4 separate regions of the Homo sapiens genome follow, and regions 1, 2 and 4 are each linked to region 3. The links are contacts of gene promoters, found by promoter capture Hi-C in human tissues and cell types (Jung and others, 2019). All regions are on one chromosome and are shown on one strand. The core of a region is centred on a gene start or on the middle of the fragment in contact, and the rest is flanking DNA. Distances in the headings are between cores, read along the strand shown. Region 1 has its middle 130 kb from the start of LINC01893. Region 2 has its middle 46 kb from the start of LINC01879. Region 3 holds the start of ZNF516 (zinc finger protein 516). Region 4 has its middle 140 kb from the start of ZNF516-AS1.

The links. Contacts are between HindIII fragments. The study calls those that stand out against the background at their distance.
Region 1: a fragment that was not itself captured here is called in contact with the fragment with the promoter of ZNF516 in region 3 in 2 of the 25 tissues and cell types used here (hippocampus and mesenchymal stem cells).
Region 2: a fragment that was not itself captured here is called in contact with the fragment with the promoter of ZNF516 in region 3 in 1 of the 25 tissues and cell types used here (lymphoblastoid cells).
Region 4: a contact is called between a fragment that was not itself captured here and the fragment with the promoter of ZNF516 in region 3, in 1 of the 25 tissues and cell types used here (lymphoblastoid cells).

The regions. Positions count from the first base shown.
Region 1 is chr18:76,338,786-76,342,105 of GRCh38, forward strand. No RefSeq gene overlaps it. Among named protein-coding and RNA genes, the nearest start is that of LINC01893, 130 kb to the left of the region's middle. The HindIII fragment of the contact is 3,027 bases long and covers 1-2,822 here.
Region 2 is chr18:76,734,267-76,737,868 of GRCh38, forward strand. No RefSeq gene overlaps it. Among named protein-coding and RNA genes, the nearest start is that of LINC01879, 46 kb to the left of the region's middle. The HindIII fragment of the contact is 4,435 bases long and covers 1-3,602 here.
Region 3 is chr18:76,493,155-76,496,685 of GRCh38, forward strand. ZNF516 (zinc finger protein 516) reads right to left here and starts at 2,088. Exons shown (of 7, transcript NM_014643.4): 1 at 1,990-2,088. ZNF516-DT (ZNF516 divergent transcript) reads left to right here and starts at 2,185. Exons shown (of 2, transcript NR_164145.1): 1 at 2,185-2,632; 2 at 3,125-3,531. ZNF516-AS1 (ZNF516 antisense RNA 1) reads left to right here. Exons shown (of 2, transcript NR_136504.1): 2 at 1-764. RefSeq lists an enhancer at 1-19 and silencers at 1,118-1,207, 1,908-2,007, 2,138-2,197. The HindIII fragment of the contact is 9,582 bases long and covers 1-3,531 here.
Region 4 is chr18:76,354,069-76,357,680 of GRCh38, forward strand. No RefSeq gene overlaps it. Among named protein-coding and RNA genes, the nearest start is that of ZNF516-AS1, 140 kb to the right of the region's middle. The HindIII fragment of the contact is 7,389 bases long and covers 1-3,612 here.

The sequences.
Region 1 (3,320 bases), core at 59-2,558, 160 kb before region 3:
CTGGTCATGCATGAAGAATGGGTGGGGAAAGAGTTTCTAGCCAGTGAAACAATGTACCTAATATCATCATGCCCACTGGGCCCCAATGACTCATATCAGGGAAAAGGGGGGCCCTGGGAAGAAGCTGAACAATCTATTCTCACAGCAAACTGTGGGGGACACTGTGGGGACACTGGGACTCTTGTTGGGATGTGCCAATGACAGAGTTGGGGGACATACTCCCTCATTATGGATCACAGCTGGTATGCAGCAAGGGATGCCTCTGGAGCAGCTGAGTCTTGGTGCCTCGGGCACAGAGTCAACACTGTGAGAGTGGACCCCCTGCCCGCCATGTGTGCCCCATGGCCCTTGGCAGGCAAAAGCAGAAAAGAACAAGACTCTGTGACCTGGAGGGGCCCTGGAGATATGAGAGGCTCAGGGACAGTCAAAGCCAAGACGAATGCTCCCACGGAATGCTGTAACTTGTGTTATCTTTTTAATCTCATGGGATGAATACTACAATAATATTGGCAAACATTTATTGGGTACATGCTGTGTGCTGGGAGCTGGATTATACATATATTGTTTTATTTAATGGTAACAACAGCCCTGGGTGGTAAGCACAGTTATTCCCTCATCCTCTAGATGGGGAAGCAGAAGCTTCAGGAAGTTTGGCAACTCCCCAGGGTCATGCAGGAAGTGAGCAGCCAAGCCGATATCAAGCCCAGACAGGCTGATTCCAGGGTCCATGCTCTTGGCTCTGATCATCAAGCAAGCTGTGCCCAGGACTGGCTTCTGGGGCATATAACCAGGGACCTGTGCTTGGGTTCTAATGCTCTGTGAGTGCCATCTCGAAATTCATAATGATTTTATCTTTTAATTTGTGTTTTGTAACTGAAATCCACTGGAATAGTGGAGCATGTGTCAGGGGCTTGGAGCTTTGATGGGGCTTACACACAGTACTAGCGTAAAGGTAGCAATGGCCTTGGAGTCATCCATTCATGTGGGATGGGATCACAACTACATGGGAGAGGAAATGCCAGGCTGAACCTCTTGCCCCACCAAGGCTCCACACACTAGCCCAGGATGGACAGCACTTGTGCCAGGTCATGGGGTGGCCCCCAGTGCCCATGAAGGTCTGTGCCAGCCCCACAGACGTGCCTGGACCTGAAGGAACATGATGCTATATAGTAACTAAAAATCACCATGATAGCAGAGAGAGAGAGACCCAAAAGAGAGGCAAAATCTTTCTATGGCACCTGTACCTCTAATGACATCTTTCATCTTGCTTCTTTAACAAAGAGCCTCCCTCCATTTTCATTTTACACTGGGCCTTACAAATTATGCAGCTGGCCCTGTGTGTACAAATTTCTGTGGAAACACAAAAGACCTGGCAATTAAATCTGCATGAAAAATTTGGGAAGGGGTTCATAGGGAATTTGAACTGGATAGTGATACATTTGTTTGTGTAGGTATTCATAAATATCTTTTGAATTAACAAATAACTCATGTGCAGGCCCTTGCACAATAGGATTGGAAGATAGGCAACTGAAGCAGAGGACACAAAAGAGGCAAAGATATAAAGATTCATGCATATATTTATTTTATTACCATACATCCATTGAGTGTTTTCCTGATGCCAGGCACTGAGCTGGTCACTAAACCCCTCCAGGGAGTGGGAAAAACTCTCCAGGGGAAGCCCATGATTGATTGTGACTGGAAGCTATGATACTGGGGATGAGAGAAATGACAGTATGAAGAGAGTTGAGTTTACAACGATCAGTTTGGGGTCATGTGAAGGGTGACTGCTTCAGGAAAACAGAAGTCAATCTAGGTATTCTCGGTTTAATGCAGGAAATCATTGGAGGCTTCCATAGCCTCCTGGAAGGCTGGAGGGTGAAGGGTGGAATCCAACTGCTCAAGCAGATAATTTACAGGATACTCAATGCCACCAAAGCTTTCAGACATCTCAGCAGGAGCTGTCTCCCAAGCACAGCTGCAGGCAGCACTGAGTAGATGATGCTCAAGAATGCACCTTCCACCTTTGTTTCTGCCATCGAATCTACTGGAGAGTAACAGTTCTCCTTATCTTCCACCTTCCAAACCTCCCTACAGTGCCTCTTGGCAGTCTTTAACCTGGAACCCTGCAGCAGAAGGAATGCTGGTCAGTGTAGCTGCAGGCTTCTCTTCTGCAGGGCACAGGAGACTCTGGAAGAGATTGAGGCACAGTTGACAACAGATAATTCGGCACAGCCAATGCCAACCACAAAACTATCTGAGTTTTAATACTGTCCAAAGAGTTAAATGGTAGTTCAGGATTTCATTTATAAAGCTGATTATAAGCTTTGTAGTGGGTAGATGGAGGTAAGAGAAGATGGATGCAGAAAATTCATTTGGGAGGGTCTTAATTTTCTGAAGGCAATACAGAGCAGGATTAAGTTAACACAGTGGTGGAAGACTTCCTTGAGAGACATTTTAGAAGAAGAATCAACAATAATTGATAACTAGTTGGCTTTTGGAGGGATATAAGAAGTGTGAATTTACATCCTGTTGGTGTCCATGATATCAAAAATGCCATCTAAGAAAAGTCATAGAAATATGGTGTTTTCTTGTTGAATTAAGTGTCACTAGGATCTTTTTCATACCTTTCAGTATTTGTCATCTAAAAATCAGGCTCCCGTGTCCTCATGGCAGTCATTGAGAGGGATGCTAAAGAACATGTGCCCTCTGCAGCCTCATACAAATTAGTCCACTCACCTCCACTGCATTTCACCTCAAACCTGACTTTTCATTGTCATCCAGGTGTCTGCTCCTCCTTTGGTGTTTCTCTTACTCAGGAGATGCCCCTCCCATTATGCCTCCTAGAAATCTGGAAGCTAGCCTTTGCCTTCAGCCCAGTTCCCATCCTGTCTAAGCCATGACAAAATCTAGCCACTTCTGCCTCTTAAATATATATTGATATTGACCACTTTTTGCCTTCTTTCCACCACCCTTTCAGACCAATTCACCATCTTCTTGCCCCCCAAACTATAAGAGACTTCCCCTTCCAATCCACTCTCCACCCAAAAGCCATGATAGGCTTTGAGAAACAGAGTTTAGATAATGTCATAATCTGCTTTGAAAAACCTTCAATGTATTATGTTTTCACTTAGCATTAGGAATAGAAGTCCTGGCCCTAACATAACCCATACATCCTGCATTTCTGGCTGCTACACAGCACTCCAGTACAATTCTGAACCATTCTGAGCCTCACCATTCTTTACCTACACTTCTACTCTCATTTTTTCTACTAAGCCAAGTTCCTTCCTTTGAAATGTCCTTCCCCCTCCATTCCCCTGGCA
Region 2 (3,602 bases), core at 454-2,953, 240 kb after region 3:
TGATCTCAGCTCACTGCAACCTCCGCCTCCCTGGTTCAAGTGATTCTCTCGCCTTGGCCTCCTGAGTAGCTGGGATTACAGGTTTCCACCACCATGCCTGGCTAATTTTTATATTTTTAGTAGAGACGGGGTTTCACCATATTGGCGGGGCTGGTCTCAAACTTCTGACCTCAGGACTCTCACCTGACCTCAGGTGACTCTCAGTCCAAGGCCTGAGAACCAGGGAAGCTGATTAGGTGACTCTGTCCAAGGGTGAAAGCCTCAGAACCTGGGTGTTGTGGGGAAGCCACTGGTGTGTAAGTCCTGGAGCCCAAAGGCCGGAGCCTGGAGTTCTGATGTCGAGGAGAGGAGAAGAAGGGTGTATCTCGGCTCCAGCAGATAGACCAGCACATTCCCCTTTTCTCTGCTTTCCTTCTCTGCGGGTCTGCAGCTGACTGGGTGGTTGCTGCCCACATCATTGAGGGTGGACATTCCCCCGCAGGTCCACTCAGATCACGTGTAAATCTCTGGAGACACCATCACAGACACATCCAAAAATAATGCTTGGCCAGTTTTCTAGGTCTTCCTTAATCCAGTTAAGGGGTCAGCTGGCTGGTGTGCCAGAAGGTTGTTGGAACCCTCAACATGCATGGGTGTTCCCAGACTTGCAGGCAATCGGCCACCAATCTGTACACAAAAGCCCCATGAGACAGAGGACTGAATGGTCCCCATTTCTAGAAGGGCTCACTGGACCGAGATGAGAGGAAAATTCCTAGTTTAATGTTGAAAAATGTAAAATCTGAATATCCAAACTGAAGTTCTGTTTCTCATTTTTCTCAGGTTTGGAATCTTGAAGTTCAAAGCTGAGACTATCCCACAGCCGATGCATTTGTCCAGAAGTTCATGGAATCCAGAAGCTCTCAAGTCCGTCAGCAGTTTTCAGGGTGTTCTTGGGAGAAAGTCTTAAGAACTCCCTCCAAAAAAAAAAAAAGGCCGGGCATGGTGGCTCATGCCTGTAACCCCAGCACTTTGGGAGGCCAAGGTGGGTGGATCACGAGGTCAGGAGATCGAGACCATCCTGGCTAACACAGTGAAACCCCGTCTCTACTAAAAATGCAAAAAATTTAGCTGGGTGTGGTGGTGGGCGTCTGTAGTCCCAGCTACTCCGGAGGCTGAGGAAGGAGAATGCCGTGAACCCGGGAGGCAGAGCTTGCAATAAGCCGAGACTGCACCACTGCACCCCAGCCTGGGCGACAGAGCAAGACTCCATCTCAAAAAATCAAAAAACAAAACAAAACAAAACAAAACAAAAAAAACGGGTAAGGCAATTTCTTTTTTTCCTTTGAGACGAAGACTCGCTCTATCACCCCACCTGGAGTGCAGTGGCACAATCTCAGCTCACTGTAACCTCCACCTCCCGAGTTCAAGCGATTCTCCTGCCTGAGCCTCCTGAGTAGCTGGGACTACAGGCACGCCCAGCACGACTGGCTGATTTTTGTATTTTTAGTAGAGACGAATTTCACCATGTTGGTCAGGCTGGTCTCGAACTTCTGCCCTCAAGCAATGCACCTGCCTTGGCCTCCCAAAGTGCTGGGATTACAGATATGAGCCACCATGCCCACCTGGGTCAAGCAATTTTTAAAAGGAGGCAAGTGCTGAAAATACAAGCCAAAGATGCCATAGTGAGGATGGGAGAGAAAGAACCACCCTGGAATTCTTTTAAAGGAAGAGAAAGCACAATGTGGTGACATTTGAAAAAGAAAGTCAAAGGCAGACATAAAATAAGCAGATATCAGAAACAAATTAACGGAATGACTTCAAGAGTGACAACTTTAAAGCAGTTCTATTTTGAGAGGCAGCAAGAACGTGGCAAAGGAATCCACTGTCTCTTTTGCAGCTCGCCCTGCAAGGGTGACCAGCTGCACCCAGGACGGGATGTGCCACAGCTGACAGGCGACACTCTCCTTCCCATATGCAGCAACAAAAGCTTTGCTTCTTACCAGTTTTGCAGAATTGTTTTGAGGCAGCAGCAAACAGCAGCACAGGACAGAAAAGCCTTTTATCCGCCTTCATCCCGGAGATGAAATGAAGCATGGTCTGTGGAGGAATACGCTGCGTGGCCCTGTTACAACAAAAGCACAATTAACACTGAGATCTCGCACACGTGTATCTAGGACACGCCAAGGAGGGAGTGCAGGGTCGTCAGCCAGGACTGACGGCGGTGTCCTCTGCGCATGGGGTGCAGCCCACCCTCTATGAGGAAGAGGCCACCTCTCCGCGCAGTGTTGGGGAGTCGGCATGGAGGCGGTGTGGAAGCCCTGGGGGTCCTCATGTCCCCTGAACCTCTTGAGGCTCAGTTTCCTCACTGCAGATGGGAACCATGTTACCTCTCACCGGCGATTGGAGTGTCCAAGAAGAATGACTTGGTGATTCATGACCTAAGAAGGACACGTGCACAGGGCTGTGGGTGTACCTCTGAGAACCGCTATAGCTAAAGCTGTGTCGACTATCAATTTACTTATAGAAACCCCAGTGCCTGTGAGATCAGGGTTTTGTTAAAATCTGCACTCATTCCAGAGGTCCTGGCTGCATTTCATGGCAGACCTTGCTGAACATTTCCAGGAGGCAAATGCAGTTCTGGGGTCGATTTGGTGGGCGTGTTCCAAAACATAACATTTACTTATACTCAGACTTGAAAACCATCTTTGTGCAACCACCACCCGCTCTCCACCAAGAACTGACTTTTCACCGAGGCCTCCAGAGTATAATCAACCTTTCGGGTTTCTCATTCCATGGTGAAGTCGTGAGTTCTCCCACACAGATGTGAAAGGAAATACTTTCAAAATGTTAAGATATCCGCTGGAATAAGTGGATCATTCCCCACAAAGTAGAGGATGGGTTTCATTGACTCATGAATAGAATGGATCCCCCAAAGTGGAGGATGGGTTTCACTGGTCACTGATAGAATGGATTCCCCAAAGTGGAGGATGGGTTGCATTGATTCATTGATAGAATGGATCCCCCAAAGTAGAAGATGGGTTTCACTGGTCACTGATAGAATGGATCCCCCAAAGTGAAGGATGGGTTTCACTGATTCACTGATAGAATGGATCCCCCTAAGTGGAGGATGGGTGTCATTAATTCATTAATAGAATGGATCCCCCAAAGTGGAGGATGGGTGTCACTGACGCATTGATAGAATGGATCATTGCATTTCCACTGGGAGTCAGACACTGTTCCTGTGGGTGCTGTTCCCAAGGGTCAAGGGTGCTGGGCCTGGGCCTTTGACTAACTTGTTTGGATCCTGTGCCTTGCCTGAGCCTCCCTGACTGATACATCTGCACCCCTGGGTGCCTGGCTTCATTTGCAATAGATTCCTGCCTCTCCCAGTTTCTGGGAGTTCTGGGCACTTCTTGACACCCCTTGGCTTCTAGCTGCATCCTTCTGATCTCTGCCTCCATCTCTGCATGGCATTCAGGGTCCTCTCTGTGTCTGTGTTCTAATGTCCCCCTTCTTTTAAGGACATAAGTGGTCCATGGATTTAGGGCCCACACCCTAATCTACTATGACCTCATCTTAACTGGATCATATCTAAAGAGACTCTATCTCCAAAGAAGGTCACA
Region 3 (3,531 bases), core at 838-3,337:
AGCTCTGAAAGTTAGCCATCTGCGCAGAGTTTGCCTTCTTTAAGGAGGGAGGCGTCAGACGATATCCATTTAAATATATTTTGTACTTCCACAAAGGATGGAAAGGGAAATTCACGAAGGGAGTGGAGGCGGAAAGGGAGCTCCGAGAAAGAAGGAGGGGTCATTCCGCGGGGGGCGGGGGGGGGGGCGGGGGCCGACGCAGGGGAAAGAGTTGCTCTCTACACCGAAAAGGGACTTTGACCTTCCATTGATCTCGAAATTCAAAAACGTTTCTTCACAGGTCAGATTGTAACAAACACTCGTTCCTAATTTATGAACTCGCCGTTTTGATTTTATTATTTAAGCATGCGCCAGCAATCGTGTTTCCTTAAGAAAGAACTGACCTATTTTTGGCTGGAGATAAACGATCATGTTAACAGATGTTAATCTTGTAATCTGTTTTTCCTGTAAGCACTTTACCTAGCCGGGTTTCAGACCTTAAAAATAACATCTTTTCCAAAAAGACCTGACGTCACAATTCACTCCCTGAAAAATCACACTCCCCCTCCAGTTTCTTCCCCTGCAATGATTTCAAAGACATTAAATCTTTTCCACTTTATAAATGCTGATCTGTTCTGCCTCTACTCCCACAGGCTCTTATTTGCATTTCAAATTCCACAGGTTACACCAGTCGCCTTTTCAAAAAATGTAAACCAACAATGCAGCAGCAAATGGCTTTTTGTGCATCTGGATTAAATAAAGCACAGAATGAATATATTTAAAAAGAGGGCTGCGCAAGTTGATCTTTGCACACCCGGAGACCCGGTGACTCTTTATCAGCGGAATGAGTAAGACACACACACAGCCCCCAGAGCTCCCGGTCTGCTGCGGGAAGCTTATTAACGCTGATAATAGATGAGGCTGACTTACAGACCCACATTTTTCGGGTAAAAGGCTGGTTCCCTCTGGTCCCTAATTGCGGGGGTCCACTGGCTTTCCTCACCACACACATAAACTGCTGCTTTTAAATACCCCACTCGGCTGCCATTTAACAAACTTATTCATACAAAGTTTCGTTAAAACTTGAGGCGGTTTAATCTAAATACTGATCGTAACTATTCAGTCTGTTAGTTCTCCCTGGAAATGGCAGCGGAGGCGCCTCCCCCCACCTCCCGCCCAACCACACACACCCCACCGCATTCTTCCTTCATACACCCGGGTTCATCTCGCCACCGAGGCCTCCCCCACCCGCACCCGGCGGGGCGCAGCTCCGAGGAGTCCCTGCCCACCCCTCTCCGAGTCGGTGCCAGACCCTCGCCCCCACCCCCACCCCCGCCCGAACTTCCCTTCCAGGACCTCTCACTTCTTTAACGTTAGGGTCACTTAGAAGCTCCCAGCAGACTGGCAAGCAGCCGGGGAGGGGGCCGTAAAAAACAAGGCCACCCCCACCTCCACGCAAACACGTCCCCTAGGCAGCAGCGCGCGGTGCCCACAGGCATCGATCCCATCCGCCAAACCCTTAATAATTGAAGCGGCTCCTCGGGCCCGCAGCCCCATCACCCACCTTCATTAGCCGGAGCGTTTTACTTTAAAGTAAGGCAATTTGCTCTTTGTCTCCTAATGGATGGAGAGCGCATCCGAGCTCCCCTCCTCCCGCGTCGCCTTTGACAAAGTGTACAAAGCCAGAGCCTCTTCCGCGCTCCCACCCCGGCCCCCACCCCGCCCCTCCACTGCGGTAAAAACCACCTCCCGGGCGCTCGCCCCGCCGCCCGAAGTTGCATCTTCCCCTATCCTGGAATTGACGAGCAGAGCAACTACCCACCGGGAAAGCCAAGTAGCCCTCCCCGCGCCCGGGGGGCCCCTCCCCGGCGCACCCCCCTCCCCAGCGCCTCCCCCCCTACCCCCAGCGGCGCACACCAGAGTACGGGGCACGTCGGGGCTCCGGGCCCCGCGCCCACCGCCCGCCCGCGGCCCCTGCGGCGCAGCCCTCCCCCCGCCCGCGGCCCCTACCTTGGCAGGGAGGCGGCGGGCCTGGGGAGGAGGACGCGCACGCCCCGCGCATCTGAAGGTGAAGCCGAGCGCCCGCGGCGCGGAGCCGAGCGCTGCACTAGACCGACCGCGCCAGCTGCGCCCGGGCGCGGGGGACGCGCGAGGGCGCGCGGGGCCCGCCACGCGCCCGGCCCCCTCCTCGCGCCGCCCGCGCGCGCCCCGGACGCGTCCGCCCCGCGGGGGCCCCGGCGCGAGCCGGGCTCGGGGGGCTGCGCGGCACGGGGAGGGGGCCGGGCGCTCACGGCCCGGCGCAGGCCGGAGGCTTCCCCCAGCCTGGAAATGGTCTGCCCTGTAGGAAACGCACACTCCACTATTGTCTCATCAGCACAAAGTTCTGCCACACTGAGGGGACAGTCTGGAGGCTTGCAGTGACTCAGACACAGCCAATTCCTCCCCTAATAGCACTGAATCACGGTTCCAGCGGCCAGTGGTCGCCCCTCGTCAAGGTCTAAGGCTGCTGCAGCCCCGGCTCCCGGAGGCCGTTTCCGCGCGCACACGCGCATCCATACGTACAGACGTGCTCGGGATGCGGGTCCCGCCGGCGGGTACCTGGGCACTGCGCCCCATCTGGACTGAAATGGGGACACCCCTTCGGGGGTCCCAGGTGCGTGTGCATTACACACGGCGTAGCGTGTGCGTGTCACTCAACTTCCTGGTAAATGCCTCTGGGGGTGTTCAGATGCAGGATCAATACATTAAGTCCTGAATCAAGGGTCACAGAGGTCCCGCTGGAAAGACTTCAAACAGCGGCTCTGCCACCCGGCCATTTAAAAATGAAGGGGTTGTTTACCGGTAGCCTCGAAAGTTCAACTCTTATTTTTCTGTTCTTAAAACTTCATTTCTTCACCTCACCTACTCCCCACGAGCAGTAGTTAGTTGTAATAAGTTGAGTCTGGGACTAGAAATCCTAATTTGACTCCAAAACGCTCTCCTGTTACAGGGCAGGGATGGCCGGGGTGGGGGAGGGGAGGGCGGGCGCGCGGGGGCGGGGGAGGGGCGGGTCGGAGCTAGCGAGGGCGAGCGCCCCTTCACGGCCGGTGACGTAGACCCGGGGAGCTGCGGCCTGCGGAGGGGTAACACTATCTTCTCCCACCAGGCTCCTGGCCGTATTGTTCTCCTTCTCCTCGTGATAACTCCGCAGTGGAGGTGGATTCCGTCCAAGACGCCCAACGTGGCTCCGCGTAGCAATCAGCGCTGCAATCCTGGCGGTTACCTCAGCGGCGGCGTCTCTCTCTGCGCCTCACACTCGCAGCCCGCGGCCCTCCCCAACTTAGGGCGTTTACAAAAGAAACTACTCCAGACGCGCTGCAAAGGGAGGCGCATGTGCCCGAAAGCTGGCGATCAGACGGGGGGGGCATTCTGCATGTGTGATGTTTCTGGGGGCGGTGGGGAGTGTGTGTCGGGGTCGGGGGGCGGGGGGGAGTCAGGCAGAAAGACAGGGACAACCTCCGCTATGAAGGATCCGCGAGTCCTCAAATGTAAGCTCCGTGTGACTAACGACCT
Region 4 (3,612 bases), core at 1,036-3,535, 140 kb before region 3:
TTAATAGTGCCTATGTTGAAGAGCACTGTGAGACTCGAATAAGATAAATTAGATGAAAACATCAGAGTTCCTGACACACAGGTAGCCCTTTTAAGTATTAACTTCTTGTAAATTTCTCTCTCAAGACTTAAAGCTGTATCACCTACACGTAGGCCAAGAGAGTCACTGTACAAAATGTCTATCTGATCCATGCCCTTCCAGTCACAGACTTCCTCTTAGCCTTACTCTTAACTAATCCATCTCACTTTTTCTACATCTGATGTTGAAGTTTCCCCTCAGCCACTGTGTTGTCCACCTCTGGCTTTTGTCTAGTTCCTTGAATTTTAATAACAGATGCACATATCAACTCAGAAACAGGCACACAGTACCTTTATGGTGCTGGTGGGCCACTGTGCCATTTTCTCCACAGTCTCCTGCCTGCTGATCCCCAGGCTGCCAATTTTGCCGTCTGAAGCCTCACTTTGAATTAGTCATCAAGGAATAGTTGGCAATGATCTCAGTCTCTTTCCTCTGTCAGATTTGACAAAGTATGTTCTAATTGTACTATGGGTTATTTCCAAAAATACACTCCCTTAGCTTTTCCTCACTGAAATTCACATGTCACTTGTCTCTCCCATCTTAAGATCTTACAGATTTTCCAAGTCAACTAAGGTTTACTATCAGAGGCAAGTTTTGTTTTAATGCCACCTAATTACCCCATTATATCACATCCTTCCAAAAGTTTCAGGTGTGTGTCACCTAGTCCTGGTGACACCTGGGTATCTGATTAGATCCTTGACCTCACTCCCCAATGGAAGAGGCTCCATTCCTCTTCCACAGACATTGTGAGCTTGTATGTATTCCCTCTGAATTAGAACTCATTTTTTTTTTTTTTTTTGAGACAGTCTCACTCTGTCATCAGGCTGGAGTGCAGTGGTGCGATCTCGGCTCACTGCAACCTCTGGCTCCCTGGTTCAAGCGATTATCCTGCCTCAGCCTGCCGAGTAGCTGGGACTACAGGTACGTGCCACCATGCCCAGCTAATTTTTCTAATTGTAGTAGAGACGAGGTTTCACCATGTTGGCCAGGATGATCTCGATCTCCTGACCTCGTGATCCGCCCACTTCAGCCTACCAAAGTGCTGGGATTACAGGTGTGAGCTGGGATTACAGGTGCCTGGCCTAGAACTCATCATTTTTAGACCCATGTTCCTCCTCCACTGTGACAGCCCAAACAGCAGGTTCCATTTTGTTCATATTTCTATGCCTGCACCTATTTCAGTGCTTACCACATGGCACAGAATTTGTTAAGCAAATTCATAAGGTTGAAAACTTTCTGTACCATTTCTACAATTTTAAAGAAGCCTAAGATCTTTTGATTAAGTGAAACTTGCATGTTTATCTGGTTCCAATTTACTTCTCTGAGTAAGGACTCTAATATTGTATTCCTTAAAAATGAATGTCGAGCTTCTGCTAAGACACAGGGTCAGGGCGAGTCATCTACTCCTGCACAGCCTAACCTACAGGTGACGTTTTATTTTGAGGCACCATCAGCCTGTTCCTTCCACCACACATCAACAGTTCTACTATGCAAAATACCCATGCCAGACCTCCAAATATTTCACAGCGGTTCATCTAATTTTGCGAAGTCTGTCTTAAACCCTCCCTTTAGACTCGGTAACCCTGTCCTGGGAACATTCCGGTCCACCAATGCCACTCTTATAGAATGGAAGAGCAGGACATAAGGAGATTGATGTACGAAGTCAAGTGGGTCTCATGCTTGTGACCTGAATACTGGTCTTCCATGGACAAATCTGGGCACATAAAAAGGCAAGATGGAGTCCCCTTGTCCTCTTGCCCTTTATAACTTGAAACTGTTGGCAATGAAGAATTTACTCTTGGCAGATGAAATAACCCACCCAAGGGCTTGGAATGGGAATCTCCACATCTCCCTCAGTTGAAAAATGAAAACAGGAGACAGCATTTGCTACGGTTTGAATGTCTGTGTTCCCACCGAATTTCATACGTTGAAACCTGACACCCAATGTGTTGGCATCAACAGGTGGGGTCTTCGGGAGGTGATCAGGGTCATGAGGGCAGAGCTCTCAGGAGCAGGAGCAGGGCCCTCATCAAAGAGGCCCGAGAGGGCTTGTTCACCTCTTACTCCACGAGGACACAGCAAGAAGGCTCCATCTATAAAGTGCAAAGCTCTCCCCAGACACGGAACCTGCTGCCACACTGATCATGAATGTCCCAGCCTCCAGAACTTGAGCAAAAAATACCTTTAAAAATTGCCCAATCTTAGGTATTTTGTGATAGCAGCCTGAAAGGACTAAGACAGCATTCTCATTGTGATTGTTTCACTACATTTTCCCTACCCATAAAGAAATCAGACAGAGGGATGTGGGACTGTCACCTGCTCCAGATTCCTAAGGAAGTTCCCCTTCCTTAAAGCCATCCTAAGCCCCTGTGCCTCAGCAGACAGTGAGGAAATCGGACATCCCAAGAACGTGTCACGCTGGTAAAGACCAGGGCATCTCGCATTTTCTTTCTGTAATTTACAGTAACATCTTTTAAAAACGTAAGATTGAGAACATTAATAACACACATTAGAAATGCACCACTGTTTTCAAACAGCTAAGGAAGGGAAAATAAAAGTGCTGCGATGAATGCAGCCATTCGTGGTAAGGTTTTACATTGTTGGGGGTGGGGGGCGTCATGATACCCAGCTTCCGCACCTAGCACGACATGGGCAAACTGCAGACACGGAGACCCCGCGCCACTGCCTTTCACCCATTTCCCACCCAGCAAGATGCCCAGAGCAGCCAGGGTAGATGTCGCGCCCTCACTGCTGGGTGATCAGGAGGTGGATAAAGGAGGATGTAATACTGCTTTCTGGGGGAAGGAGCTTGGTTACTTGTGGAACCAAAGGGTCTGGGATGTGGCTACAGGAACACCAATAAGCTCCTGTGTTACCAGGGGAACTGACCATTGTCAGGTGACACAGAGAGATGTAGGCCAGGGTTTTGTTTTGTCCTAACACAAGTGTTCTTAGCCCTTCACTTCAATGTCAGCTACCTATTAAGGACTTTGGTGTTGCCACTTCGTTTCGGATGCACGCCCGTCTCAGAAGAACCAGCCATCCAAGAGGAGGGAGGTTCTAAACAGCGAGGCATAAACCTCAGCAGAGTTAGACAAGGTCTGCACTTCATCTAAGGGCCTTTCAGAGTATCAAAGGCCTTCGGGCTTCCACAACAGCATTTTCACCGCAGAGTGGCGCACCCAGCGCAGAGTGGCGTCCCCAGCGCAGAGTGGCGTCCCCAGCGCAGAGTGGCGCACCCAGCGCAGAGTGGCGTACCCAGCGGAGAGTGGCGTACCCAGCGGAGAGTGGCGTACCCAGCGGAGAGTGGCGTACCCAGCGGAGAGTGGTGTACCCAGCGGAGAGTGGCGTACCCAGCGCAGAGTGGCGTACCCAAGGCTAGACGCTCCGGTTGGGGGAAGGACGCCCAGTGCTGTTCAGAGTTCCATTTCCTGCCCAGCACATCTGGAAAGCCACATTCGGGAACTTATCTAGTCTGTTCTTTCCTCAGCCAGTAGAGACACAGTTCTATCTTTTAATTTTAAAACACATTTT